Linked DNA regions of Homo sapiens: all the other regions are linked to region 2. The links are contacts of gene promoters, found by promoter capture Hi-C in human tissues and cell types (Jung and others, 2019). All regions are on one chromosome and are shown on one strand. The core of a region is centred on a gene start or on the middle of the fragment in contact, and the rest is flanking DNA. Distances in the headings are between cores, read along the strand shown. Region 1 has its middle 8.9 kb from the start of PCDHB1. Region 2 holds the start of ZMAT2 (zinc finger matrin-type 2). Region 3 has its middle 20 kb from the start of PFDN1. Region 4 overlaps ANKHD1-EIF4EBP3 (ANKHD1-EIF4EBP3 readthrough). Region 5 overlaps PFDN1 (prefoldin subunit 1).

Region 1 (2,700 bases), core at 132-2,631, 340 kb before region 2:
GATTTGAAACTACGAGGATATGCTATTCCCAAAACAATTTTATTAACCATTGATTTCCAACATCCATGAATGATCCTTGCCTTGAATAAATACATATTTGTATATATATATATAGTATAAGTGTATGTGCATACGTATATCTATATGGGATCATGAGACTTACACTTTCAATACATTAATACAGATATCTTTATTTTCCTCCCCTACTTCATATTTTGTATTTTCCTTGTCCCAAAGTGAGAAGCCTTAGTTCACAACAGCATCAATATATTTACCCATCAAAATAAATCTCAAGATATACATTAAAGAATTTTGGAATTATTACACTATTACCTAAGTGCTAATTAACTTTTTTGAAAATCCACTCAGGGAGGCAAGAGAAATGTACTTAGTCGCATATTGAATAACAAATTCTTTTTACCCAATGTTCTTTCCTTTAAGACTCTACATTTTCTGCTTATAAAATTAGTTTAGATCAAAATTGATTCTAACATTAATGTAAAATGTATTGTTTATTTTTATTCATCTTTAAGTCATAGGTTTAAATGTTTCTGAAATTGTTCTGATGATAATTTTTTCACTATTTTCAACTTCTTTTAGAAAAAAAATACCTTAACTAAAATATTGGAGCATCTCTTCTGATTTGTTGCTTCTACTATTGTACCCAAAGTTCAGGTAGTTTTAAAATTTTAATATTGATAATATTTATTGTAATAGTAATTTTAACAGGCAGGTTAATATTTGGGGTCACCTCTAATTTTCATTCATATATACCTTTTAAGCCTGAAAAAAAAAGTCTATTTTTAGGAGTAGGTGTATTTTGAAACATTGAGGTCACACCTGCAGTTGTAAACTTTAGTACTATTTTAAAATTTTATTCTTCCATTGTGTCTTTTCATGCTTTTAAGGTTTCTTATTCATATTAGCAGAAACAGGATGCTTTGGTGGATAGAAGTCCTTTTTAGGCAGCTCAGTTTATTGCAGCTGCTCTTGATCTCCCATCTGTTGCTTTAAATGAGAATGCCTCTTATTGCTCAACCTGTGCATGTGCGTATAAAGTTTCCTTCTCCCACAGTAACACAAGAAGCCATAATATAAACCAATACCACTTATAGACTGGATTTGTAGTACACTCTTGTTTAAAACAGATGTCTTTCATCTTCTTACTATTCATGCTTTTTTTCATATTGGTAGAACAGGCTATGGATGTCTTTCCAGGAAATCTGACAAGTGTTTGGAAACGTCTCAATTTAATCAAATAGAGACTATATTAGAGTGATAATTCTTTCCCTTGATAAGCACTTATCAATTTCTCCTTTTTATAGAAAATTCAGTTAACACCAAAATCAGTACCTACATTTTTATTGAAATTAATATCTATTCAACAAAATTTTGTTTTAAACCTTAAAACAGAAATGGTAACTTTTATGTTAAGTAACTATGCTATTATATTTTTATTCTATGTTAAGACCCATAGAAGAGTAAATGAGAAAATAGCTATAAGAAAAGGAAATACTAACTGGGCTGGTTGACTTATAAAACCAAATGTGCCCTGGGATGGGTCTTTTTTCTGAGAGTGGTAAGATTGTTTGCTTGGGAAAGAATTTTATTTCACTCTCAACTTGCTAGAATTGATTTTACACTGTAACCCATACACCTGAACATACAGTAAGACTCTGAAACAACACTTGAACAAGGTATTTCCCCTATTTTTTCTTGCTATTTATCAAGATCTGTACTTACAAAGCAACTTAAGGTTTCCTCCTCTGAAGCTGGATGTATGTAATTCACAGTAACTTAATCATCACTGTGTAAAATAGTGTAAATAATATACACAGACTAAAAGTAATAAACATACCATAAATTTTCTGTATTTTTAGCACTCTGATAGTTTATGTATTAGGCTTGGAAAAAATAAAAAACAAGAGTTTTCATCCTAGAATTCCCACCACCTCTTACCAATTCCTAAATATAGTCACACTTTTCATCTTCCAGAAACTGAGATCAGAGTAGCACTCTCGGCTAAGCTTCCTGGAATATTTTTGGCTAACAACATAGTGCTTCCTTAGTATTTCTTTCAGTAAAATATACCCTGTGGAAGTTTTAGTAAATATTTCTAAATACCTATATATACAGATACTTTAAAAATACCTATTTGATTACAAGATGTGTTGGAAAAAATGCTTGGAGAAATTTAAACATATTCGTAAATTATTTTGAGTAGAAGCGAGAGATCACTCTGAAAATTCTAAATTTTTCCATTTCTCTTTAAAAATAGGCAGATCTCTCAAAAAAACCACTTCCTGACGCCCCAAATCTTCAATTTGTGTCTTTTAAGTTTTAAGTCTTAATCCAAAGAACCCTTTACACTTTATCAATAGCATTTTCCTCATCTGCCACCAGGTGGCAGGTGGATCCACTTTTCGGAACGCGACCCCGACCCCGCCCTACCGGAAGCTGTCATGTAAAGGAAATCTCTCTGGCCACGCCCAGAGTTCAGCACCATGGCCACGGACAGCGACACCGCCCAGTTCGGTCCCATGACTCGCTGCAGAGATTTTCACCACACAAAGGAAATGGCCAATCCCAACTGGTTCCAAGGGTCGCGTGACTGGCTAATTTACAATGCCAGAGGTGGAGGGGGGTAGGAACCCCTTGTTTTGGGATTTTTAGCCTGGAGGAGGAACAGACTGATATTAA
Region 2 (2,700 bases), core at 33-2,532:
CTGAAGAATTACTAGAAGCAACTTTTTCAAAACGGGAGCAAGGACATTCAAGAATGCTTTCAGGCAGATACCCTAGGCATAACGGAAAGGAACCTTCTGAGAGCTGGGCAAATTTATAAAAGGGGACCAACATCTAGGAAATGCCTGTTACATGTCAAGCACTATTTATTTTACATGTTACATAAAAAATGAAAGAGTTAGTGAGTGCAAGGTGGCCTGGAGGTAAAGGGAAAGAAGAATGTACACGTTTGAAACAGATGACAAAATAAAACATTTCTTTATGCAATCTCTTAAACAGGAGAGAAGCACCAACTCCCTGATGTACAAGGCACAGAGAAACAGCACTACTAAGCTCTAGCTGAAACAATCACAGATCCTGCAAAGTTCCCCGGCTTTTCTCAGACTATATGGGAGGGTCTTGATTGGGCCAGGAATGTTCTCTCCCTTAAGAAATTTCAAGGGAAAGAGGGGGGTCACTGATAGCGGTAATGCACAGCAGCAAAATACTCTACTTAACTTCTCTGTCACTACTAAGGATGCCGTTATCTTCTCTGTACTTCAGGAAAGCATTAAACGAGCCAAGCAAAGGGTGGGCAAGGAAGCAGAGTGAAATAGAGCTGAAGAGCATCTCAAAACTACTTACTTCATCCCACCTCCTCGCTCTCATTTTGTAAATGCAGAAACCTAGGCCCAGGGAAGCAGCACTCTGCCAGAGCTTACACCGCGTGGGAAGGCAGCGCACTTCAACTCCCACCCGCTCTCCATCATCGCATCGCCTCTGTGATACCCTTAGCCCTTGATGTAGTTAGCACCCACCATCTTTCTTTTCTCTCTCTTCCGTGAGCCTCTTCTCGGCGAGTTTCTCATATTCATCTTTGTCCCACTTTCGGCGAAAGTCCAAGTTTTTTGTCTGTGGGGAGGAAAAAGCGTCAAGATCCGTCGCCGTGTCTGGGCCCCTAGAGAAGCAGGGAACCGCGCCCTCGCGGTCCAGGTGTCTACAGGACGTTTTGAAAGCAAAGCCTCTTTGGACTGTACGAGAAGACTGAGGTAGCCTCAAGACCCCAACCCGAGAAACCTCCGCGATTCTACTGACCCTCTGCCAAGGCCTATTACTGGGGAGTTCTTGAACCTGAACCCTGGGATCTCGAGGAGATATCGGGAAGCCAGTCGGGTGCAGGAGTTTGTCTCTATTCAGGTCTGAAAAACCATTCCCCACCCCGCAAAACCTCCTCCTCAGACACAACACCTACCCCGCTGCCCGACGCCATCTTCACAGCGAAGTGAATGGCGAGCTGAAAAACGCCGTAAAAAGCGGCTTGGAGCCGTAAGGCAAGATAGCCCTCCAATAAGCTTGGAGTCTTGTGTTCTAAACGAGCTAAGGACTGGAGGGTTTCTAAAACAGGCTTGTTGGCCCCGCCTCTGCTCCAAGGAGACAGCGCAGGCGCAAGAGGAGTATGAAGCAACACGGAAGTAAGGGCGCTTGCAATTGTTTTTTGCCTTGGATTTCAAAACAAGCATTAAAGGGTCAAGATTTAGTTCAACTATTTTACAAACAAGGAAACTGAGGTTCGCAAAACAGTGGTCTCTGATCTAGTCTAGCAACTTTGCGTCCACTGCCAAGAATTTCTAAACCTTTTTTAAGGCCGAAGCGCCATTAGGGGGTCTAGATGCCTCTCATTCACCTGCATGCACTAGGGATATGACCCTAAACTACACTGAAACGTTTGCAACAGAGGCACCCTTCCCGACGCACATATAAAAAGCATGTTTTGCACTTGGGCTCTTTTCCTTGAAGCAATGCTACCACCCTTTGGTTCACTTATTTTTCCATCATCTGGGGAACTTTATAGTAGAACATAATTTAATCAGCATAATTGGATTTGGAAAGGCCAGTCATCAACAACACTCTAGAGTGAAGCACTGTGGCATACCGGCTCACTATATGTTGATTTTTAGCAACAAAACTACCTCTTGGCCGGGCACAGTGGCTCATGCCTGTAATCCCAGCACTTTGGGAGGCTGAGGTGGGTGGATTATGAGGTCAGGAGTTTGAGACCAGCCTGGCCAAGATGGTGAAACCCTGTCTCTACTAAAAATACAAAAATTAGCTGGCTACTCGGGAGGCTGAAGCAGGAGAATCTCTTGAACCTGAGAGGCGGAGGTTGCAGTGAGCCGAGATCACGCCACTGCACTCTAGCCTGGGTGACAGAGCAAGACTCCGTCTAAAAACAAACAAACAAAAAAACTACCTCTTGAGGAGACAGGGAAAGAGGGAGAAACTGTGGCTGCTCATCACTGAATACAGAAGCATCATCCCAGGGAGGTTACTTCTACCTCACAGAATTCTCCAATGTACACTCAAGCATTTTCTATGGTCTATGCAAACAAAGCCCTTGATAACAATAACAAATTACCCAAACTACTACACTTAATATTTTATTTAACATGTTATCCAACCACTTCTAAAACAGCCTCCATGGCACGGTATGGAATAGAGCAGTGATTCTGGCACAGGAAATGGTCTCCAAAATCTCAAAATATCAGATCTCTACCTTGTCAAGTCATCTATTAAGTTCAATGTTCAAGATTATCAAGCATACAGCCCCACTCTTCTACTGTAAGCAATGGATGGGCTAGAGAGATGTCAAATCAACATGGGTACTGCCATGCCCTTAGGATAGCATCTGTCCTCAAAGCTGA
Region 3 (2,700 bases), core at 11-2,510, 380 kb after region 2:
AGGAAGAAGCTAGCTTGTTCTTTCTTCATGCCACTAGAGTCTGGGTTAAGGACAGCTGTGTAAACCATGTACTCACCCAGGGTTCTCTAGGAAAGCCTGACTTCTTTCTATTTTGTCGGTGGTACTTGGTCAGTTGGGCGTCCCTGGGAAGCATTGTGCTTGGTAAGGGGGGCCTGATCGGGTCCATTTGAGAGTAAGTGTTCTCTCCTGCCTGTGGATGTAAATCCAACCCCTGGAACTCCAGGCCTGAGAAGTGTGACCCAAGTTCAACCCCTTTTACAGGTGTGTGTTTGGACACCTTCCGGAGAAAGTCTGCTGCCCACCCCTGTCCCAGCTGGGTTAGTTTCTCCTCCCCTGTGCTCTCACACCTCTGAGCCTTGGACAATGCAAGGAAAAGGAGTCCTCTTCCCATAGCAGCTTTGCTGCTCCTCTCCCATGGCTTTCATCACACCGCATATTGTCATTGTTTACTCATCCATTTCTCCCACTGTGAACTCTTGGAGGTTGTGGAGTGTGTCCTTTTACACACTGTGTCAGCACACCAGAGGCTTTCCCTAAATGTTTGATGCATGCATGGATGGATGGACAATTGAATAAATGAATGAGTGCATGAATAAATGGATGAGTGAAATAGAGTAGAGGTGAAAGTTTCAGGCTCTAGATCAGACAAGCCTGGGTTTGAATCCTCGTCATGCCATTTTCTGGTTATATAATAATCTCAGATAAGTTATTTAACCTCTCAAAGCCTCAATTTTTTTATTAAGGTTTTTTTTGTGGAGATTACAGTGCCTGTAAAGCATTTATCACAGTGTCTGGCAGCATGGAGTAAGTACTCATACCCGAAAGCTTTTACTATTCTTAACAAGCTTTGCCAGTTTTTACCATCATGGGTCTTGTTTGCACCTCCTTTTCTAGATTTTTGGCACAGTGGGTCTTTGCCAGACTCAAGGGTTGGCCTGCAGGGCTGCCCACATGGGTACACGTTGGGGTCAGGCAATGTAAAAACAGCACTGAGTTTTGCTGAGAAGGGGAAACCGTGATAGGGGCCTGTCTAAAACCAGGCAAACAGGTCAACTGCCAACCCCATTGTCTCAGGCCTTCTCTGCTGGCAGCGTGCTCAAGAAAACAGGAACAGTGTGGCATTTAAGGTGCCTGGATGACAGCCACATCAAATATGTGACCTTTTCCTAGGAAGCCTGGTTTCCATGGTGAGCTCGTTCTCAATCCATGCTCTGTGGCTCTCAGCCCCCTCTGGAATGTGACAGCAGTGGCCCCAGCAGCCGGGTGGGGACATCTGCCTAGAGGTTGTCCCTCCAACATCTCCAGGGTGGAGGAGGAGCTGAGATAGCCCCCTGGGCTGTCTGATGCCCACACCAGCCTTCCAACCTGGAAGGATTTGCACTGAGGCCCTGACACTGCCTCCCTCTGCTCCCCTTCTCCCACACATGGCTCATGGCCAACTGGCTGCCAGCCTGAGCAGAAAGAAGGGGTCTCTTTCTGTGAACCCCCATCTTAGACAGAGGCCCTGACCCCCTCCACCTCATCTTGGCAGCCTGAGATTGGAGAGAGTGTCTGCCGCCCTGGCCTTGGCAGAGCGCGTGCTCAGCCCAGCCCCTGCAGCTGCCAGAACAGGAGCTGAATGCCCAGTGTGTCTGCCAGAGCTTGCTAACTTCTTTCTTCTTTCTCTGAGCTATGAAAACAGAGGCTGCTGAGGAATGTGACTGCTAACCTCCCCACCACCCGCCTCCCTCCTCCTGGGGCTTGTGTTCCCCCAACCCCCCAAGCTGGAGTCACATCAGAAAAATGTAGGGGAGGAAAGAAATCCCCCAATGTGTCATGACATTACATTTCCGCCTGGACCTCAGAAACAAGAAAAGTTAGAAGCAGAGGGAGAAGAGGGGTGGTGTGGTCATTGCCAGAGCCCTGTGACTGCTTCACCTCCTGCCTCCCTGGGGCAGATCACTTGCTCCCTTGGGGATCTGTCTCCTCATTAATAAATGGGGGCAGATCGGGCCTGGTGGCTCACACCTGTAATCCCAGCACTTTGGGAGGCCGAGGTGGGGGGATCATGAGGTCAGGAGTTCAAGACCAGCCTGGGCAACATGTTGAAACCCCGTCTCTACTAAAGACACAAAAAAAATTAACCTGGGCGTGGTGGCGCGCACCTGTAACTCCAGCTACTCAGGAGGCTGAGGCAGGAGAATCGCTTGAACTCGAGGGGCGGAGGTTGCAGTGAGCTGATATCCCACCATTGCACTCCAGCCAGGACGACAGGGAGAGACTCCATCTCAAAAAAAAAAAAAAAATGGGGGCAAATTGCTTTGACTCAGATGGCAGACAAACTCAGAATTACCTGTTTGCTGTCATTGAATAGCACGGATATCACTAAGTTGGTAATTATTGAGTGAGTGTACTGCTCACGCATACTCATTTAACAGACATACGGGGATTCCTCCTTTTTTCTGGAGGCTAAGAACACAAGGGTGAACAGGACCGAGGCCCTGCCCTCCGGGAACTTGCACTTGAATAGGAAAAATAGACAATTAAGTCACAAGAATCAAATGTCAAGAGAGTTGTGTTGGGCAATAGGAGGTGCCAAGTTGGCTGACCTGGTCCAAGGGTCAGGGAGGTCACTTCTTGGAGGAAGTGAAAATCAAGCTGAGGCCTGAAGGATGAGCAGTTGTGATGCAAGTAAAGAAT
Region 4 (2,700 bases), core at 28-2,527, 260 kb after region 2:
ATTTTATAATATGCATTACATATAAAAAAATTAGCTATTTAAAATCAAGTTAAACATAGATTAAAGTGAATACACAAGTAATCAACATGCAGCTCCCTAAATCAGTACAGATAAAGAAGTCATAAACTGATTAACTAAATTTATCTCCCACATTTTTATTTTATAATGGCTAACAGGTAAGTTTTCCTTGATAACTAGCTGATTATCTTTTTTTTTTTTTTTTCAGACGGAGTCTCGCTCTGTTGCCCAGGATGGAGTGCTATGGCATGATCTCGGCTCACTGAAACCTCCCCCTCTAGGGTTCAAGCAATTCTCCTGCCTCAGCTGCCTGAGTAGCTGGGACTACAGGCGCACACCGCCATACCTGGCTAATTTTTTTCTATTTTAGTAGAGACAGGGTTTCATCATGTTGCCCAGGTTGGTCTTGAACTCCGAGCTCAGGCAATCCGCCTGCCTCAGCCTCCCAAAGTGCTGGGATTACAGGCGTGAGCCACTGCGCCTGGACGCTCATTATCTTAATACCTTAAAAATATATGAGTTGAGCCCAGAAATACAAAATGTGAACATTTTCTTTGGGAGATAAAAAGTAAAATAAATTTTAGAGATTTTAAATTTTGTATAATGTTATAGAATTTGGGGATAATCTCATGTAACTGTAAAGAGATCTAGACTTTTAAAGATATGAAAAAGATAAAACAAAAAATAAAGTACCTGCTGCTTCTAGCAATGCTTCTAGTCGTGCCTGTGTCTCTGGATCCACAGTGCGTAAGTCTGCTCCTTCTGCAGTACTTGATAAGAATATCTCTGATGTTGTTTTAAGCACTGGGTTATCCAGATCTTCTTGGTCCAAAATAAATGATTCAACCTGTTAATGAAATAAAGATGCAATATCCATGAAACTGATATCAATATGATTAGAATAACTACAATTTAAGGTAATATGACTTCTTAATTAGAACTTAAATATAAGCAGAAAAATTATTATAGAAACAAGGGAGTATGGGAATGGACTTTGAAGGACATTGTGACTGTTTACCTTCAGACATGACTACAGGTATAACACACATACACTGAAGTTTCCTCAAGAGCATTGTATATTCTGTGACTAATACAGAGCATGAAAAGCAATATTAAGGCCAGTCACAGTGGCCCACGCCTGTGATCCTAGCAGTTTGGGAGGGCCAGACAGGCAGATCGCTTGAGCTCAGGAGTTTGACACCAGCCTGGGCAACAAGGTGAAACCCCATATCTATTAAAAAAAAAAATTAATACTGAAAAAAGAAAAGCAGGGGCTGGGCGCAGTGGCTCACACCTGTAATCCTAGCACTTTGGAAGGCTGAGGCAGGGGGATTACCTGGGGTCAAGAGTTTGAGACCATCCTGGCCAACATGGTGAAACCTCATCTCTACTAAAAATATAAAAATTAGCCGGGCGTGGTGAGGTGGTGCCTGTAATCCCAGCTACTCAGGAGACTGAGGCAGAATTGCTTGAACCCAGGAGAAGACGCAGGTTGCTGTGAGCCGAGATCGTGCCATTGTACTCTAGCCTGGGCAACACAGCAAAAACTCCATCTCAAAAAAAAAAAAAGCATTTACTTTTTATTGAAACAAGTACATGAACATAACCCTGAGAAAATCCATATAGACTAGATAGAATAGAACAAACAACAACAACAACAACAACAACAACAAACTTGATAGCATAGATAGGTCATTAAGAGAAAAGTTTTCCTCTTTTCTAAATAATTTATTCAATTCTGACTCTGAAATGAGGGAAAATAAAAACTAACCCACTGATACCTGGAGACCTTTAGACAGGAACACTCCATGAGGTTAAAAACTGTACTTTGTTTACAGTGCTATACGTTGGGCCTACGAATACCTGGCACATAGTATGAATTTAATACATACTTGTTGAAATGAATGAATGGTATAAGCAAAAATCAACTTACAAAAATAAACATGTAACCCTCCAATTTCAAATAAAATTAATTCAAAATGTATTTTCTTAAATAAAATATATACAACCCTTCTGGGAAGCAATTTGGAAACGTGTATCAAAATACCTTAAAAAGCTCACTAAAAAATTTTCTGAAAGCCAGACAAAAATTAGTGTGCAAGGATGTTCACTGCAGCATTAACTGAAATTCCAAAAATGAGGAAAAATTATAATACAGAATTTGGGAAATACATGTTGTACATTTACATGATGGACTACCATGCAGTCATTAAAAACAATGTTTTTGTGACCACTGGCTCAACTGTGAGAAGAAATAAAAAATTAAAAAAAAAGTTTTTGAAGCATATTTAATGGCATGAGAATATTCATAAAATTAAATAAAATACACAAGATTCAAAACAGTATGATTCTTATTTTGCTAAATGTACATATGTGTATATATGTAAATATGAACATGAGTACTCATGAGTAATATGTAGTATGTATATTATTTACATAATATATGTAATGTATATCATATACATATATACGTATATACATATAACATGTATGGCATATATGTAATTTGTATAATATACAGATAATATATATACTATATATATTACTGTAATATGCAAATATGTATAGCCAGGAAAAATTAACATATTTGTAGATAAAGAAAAACATCAGGAACAGAAAGATTAAGTACTTCTTCAAGGTCACACAGCTAACAAACAAAAAAAATAAGGTTTCAAACTCAGG
Region 5 (2,700 bases), core at 175-2,674, 420 kb after region 2:
TTTAGTATCTGTTCAGATACTTTATTTTTAAAGGCCACATAAGTAATGACTTGACCTCTAATCTTAGCTTTGAAATTTTCCCAGACACTAATAAAGATGATGTCTGATGACCTTTTATTTGAGAATAGTACTCATTGGCCAGCTATCAGTGCTACTTAAAAATGTATATTTTACTCAAAAAATTATTTCCATGGCTAAAAGACTTTCTCAGTAAAATCACACATGTCATGACATAATTTGGTGACTCTTGCACCTTGTTTTAGAATAGTTTTTACATAACATTACTGAGACTTAGTACTGTTCAAAACAACTCTTCTCTTCAAATACAAATATGAGTTAGTTCTGAGAAAAATATTCTGTAAACCATAATCTTATCTGAAATAGCACCCATCTCTTGGATCCAGTAAGAATATTTTAGACATGAAGGGTTCTATAGTAAAAGACCTGGAATTAATCCTTGTTTTGCATGAATGTGGGCTCTCTTTCCTGTAAATATACAGTAAGGTTTTACAAAGAATCAAGTTACTACTGAAGACTAAGATCATCAGTTGGGCTGGGCTGGGCGTGGTGGCTCATGCCTGTAATCCCAGCACTTTGGGAGGCCGAGGCGGGCAGATCACGAGGTCAGGAAATCGAGACCATCCTGGCTAACATGGTGAAACCCTGTCTCTACTAAAAAATAGAAAAAATTAGCCAGGCGTGGTGGTGGGCGCCTGTAGTCCCAGCTACTCGGGAGGCTGAGGCAGGAGAATGGCATGAACCCGGGAGGTGGAGCTTGCAGTGAGCCAAGATCATGCCACTGCACTCCAGCCTGGGCAACAGAGCGAGACTCCGTCTCAAAAAAAAAAATTATCTGGGCTGGCCGCATTAGGATATAAGCTTAATAATTAGTGGAGTAAAAGAAGTTCTTCAGATTTTATTAATATGTGTGGTAAGGCTTAGTTATGAAGAAGAGGGGACAAGGCAGTTTCCTTCCAGGTGTTGGGGCATAGCTAATTGCCCTTTTTGGTCTGTTTTTACTTGTCTTATATCTATAATAACGGACTCTCTTGATAAGAACCCACCTAGGCACAATGATGTTTTTGTGGGGTTGGCAGAGGAAACTGCATGTTGCTACCTTGATGTGTTTTCTCGTTTGACTTTTTGTTAAGAGATGATGTTTAGTTCTTTGTTGCTGAACTCTGTTAGTGCAAAGAGAAGAAAAATCTTGCTTAATTAATTGCAATATTAAATTGAAATATATTTTAGCTTCCTTAGACAGTCCTGAAAGAGATTTGCATAACTGGGGTCTTCCCTTGGTTCCAGTGGAGGGGAAATATTTCAGTTCACTTACTTGGGGCTATAAAAGTTTGTTCTTCCTTTCCCTGAAGCAAGAATTGTGAACATAAAGTCATAAAACAGTTTCAGTGTTAATTTTTAAAACTTCTCCATATTTCCACCCTCATCAGTGGTAAATAATGTGCCTGATGTAAAATGGAAAAAGTTGAAAATTTCCACTTGTACATTTTGAGCTTTTCAGAGGTACTATATACACTCTGGAAATAATAATAAAAGATACTAAGGCTTATACAGTGCTTTTTGTTTGAGGAACTCATATAAACACTAATGCATTGATCCTAACACAGTGCTTGATTGTGACTTTAAAAGGTCATGAGTTACTGCTGTTACAAAAAAAAAAAAAAAATGGAGGGGCGCTCCACTTTACAAATATAGTTTAAAAAATATCTAGATAAAAATTGAAACAGATAACTGAAAAAACAAAACTTATAGGGTATTTGTTTGTATGTTGACTTTTCTCTTAGCGTATGATATATTTTTATTCCTTTATTATTTTTTCTTTTACATATGAATCTACTTGAAGCCTGATTTTCTTTTCTTTTTTTTTTTTTTTTTAATGTTTTTAAGACAGGATCTTGCTCTGTTACCCAAGCTGGAGTGCAGTAGCACAATCATGGCTCACTACAGCTTTGATATCTCAGTCTCAATTGATCCTCCCACCTCAGCCTCCCTAGTAGCTGGGACTACAGGCGTGTGCCACTGTGCCTGACTAATATTTTAAATTTATTTTTTGTAGAGATGGGTCTCATCATGTTGCCTGGGCTAGTCTTGAACTCCCAGGCTCAAGCAGTCCTCCTGCCTCGGCCTCTCAGAGTGCTGGGATTACAGGTGTGAGCCACTGTGCCCAACTCCCGCAACCCCCCCGCTTTTTTTTTTAATGAGACAGGGTCTTGCTATGTTGCCCAGACTAGACTCAGACACCTGGGCTCAAACAATCCTCCCACCTCAGCCTCCTGAGTATCTGGGACTGTAGGCCCACACCACTGTTCCCTGCCTGATTCCTATATTAAATAAGAAAGCAGAATCTACTTTTAAGCCTTTATTCCTTCTCAGCCAAGAAGGTTTAAACTTCTGGTGGTTTCCTGAGCTTGACGTATTATGTTAATATGCATTTGTCCTTTTAATTTGCTCAGTTTAATATTTGTAGTATGTAGCTATTGATTTCGATGAATTCAATAGTCATGTGGCTTAATTTTCAACTTTCTTGTGTTTCATAGGTTTATTCTTCAGTCCAAGGAAGCAATTCACAGTCAGCTGTTAGAGAAGCAGAAAATAGCAGAAGAAAAAATTAAAGAACTAGAAGTAAGTTTTTATTGGCAATAGGAGTTAACTTTTGGGAGAAAGTAGTAATCTTATTGTGTC

The links. The method cuts DNA at HindIII sites, captures the fragments that hold promoters and counts their contacts. A contact is called where the count stands out against the background at its distance.
Region 1: a contact is called between a fragment that was not itself captured here and the fragment with the promoter of ZMAT2 in region 2, in 1 of the 25 tissues and cell types used here (hippocampus).
Region 3: a contact is called between a fragment that was not itself captured here and the fragment with the promoter of ZMAT2 in region 2, in 1 of the 25 tissues and cell types used here (hippocampus).
Region 4: a fragment that was not itself captured here is called in contact with the fragment with the promoter of ZMAT2 in region 2 in 1 of the 25 tissues and cell types used here (spleen).
Region 5: a contact is called between a fragment that was not itself captured here and the fragment with the promoter of ZMAT2 in region 2, in 1 of the 25 tissues and cell types used here (hippocampus).

The regions. Positions count from the first base shown.
Region 1 is chr5:141,041,080-141,043,779 of GRCh38, reverse strand. No RefSeq gene overlaps it. Among named protein-coding and RNA genes, the nearest start is that of PCDHB1, 8.9 kb to the left of the region's middle. RefSeq lists enhancers at 1,761-2,700, 2,360-2,700. The HindIII fragment of the contact is 5,128 bases long and covers 1-2,700 here.
Region 2 is chr5:140,699,029-140,701,728 of GRCh38, reverse strand. It overlaps ZMAT2 (zinc finger matrin-type 2), which reads right to left and starts at 1,282. Exons shown (of 6, transcript NM_144723.3): 1 at 1,251-1,282; 2 at 817-910. The coding sequence starts at 1,268. It overlaps HARS2 (histidyl-tRNA synthetase 2, mitochondrial), which reads right to left. Exons shown (of 13, transcript NM_012208.4): 13 at 2,424-2,700. RefSeq lists an enhancer at 954-1,023. The HindIII fragment of the contact is 4,805 bases long and covers 502-2,700 here.
Region 3 is chr5:140,322,015-140,324,714 of GRCh38, reverse strand. No RefSeq gene overlaps it. Among named protein-coding and RNA genes, the nearest start is that of PFDN1, 20 kb to the right of the region's middle. RefSeq lists an enhancer at 795-1,994. The HindIII fragment of the contact is 4,745 bases long and covers 1-2,700 here.
Region 4 is chr5:140,434,269-140,436,968 of GRCh38, reverse strand. ANKHD1-EIF4EBP3 (ANKHD1-EIF4EBP3 readthrough) reads right to left here. Exons shown (of 36, transcript NM_020690.6): 2 at 712-865. It overlaps ANKHD1 (ankyrin repeat and KH domain containing 1), which reads right to left. Exons shown (of 34, transcript NM_017747.3): 2 at 712-865. Among named protein-coding and RNA genes, the nearest start is that of ANKHD1-EIF4EBP3, 34 kb to the right of the region's middle. The HindIII fragment of the contact is 7,246 bases long and covers 1-2,700 here.
Region 5 is chr5:140,281,389-140,284,088 of GRCh38, reverse strand. It overlaps PFDN1 (prefoldin subunit 1), which reads left to right. Exons shown (of 4, transcript NM_002622.5): 3 at 2,556-2,640. Among named protein-coding and RNA genes, the nearest start is that of PFDN1, 20 kb to the left of the region's middle. The HindIII fragment of the contact is 5,922 bases long and covers 1-2,700 here.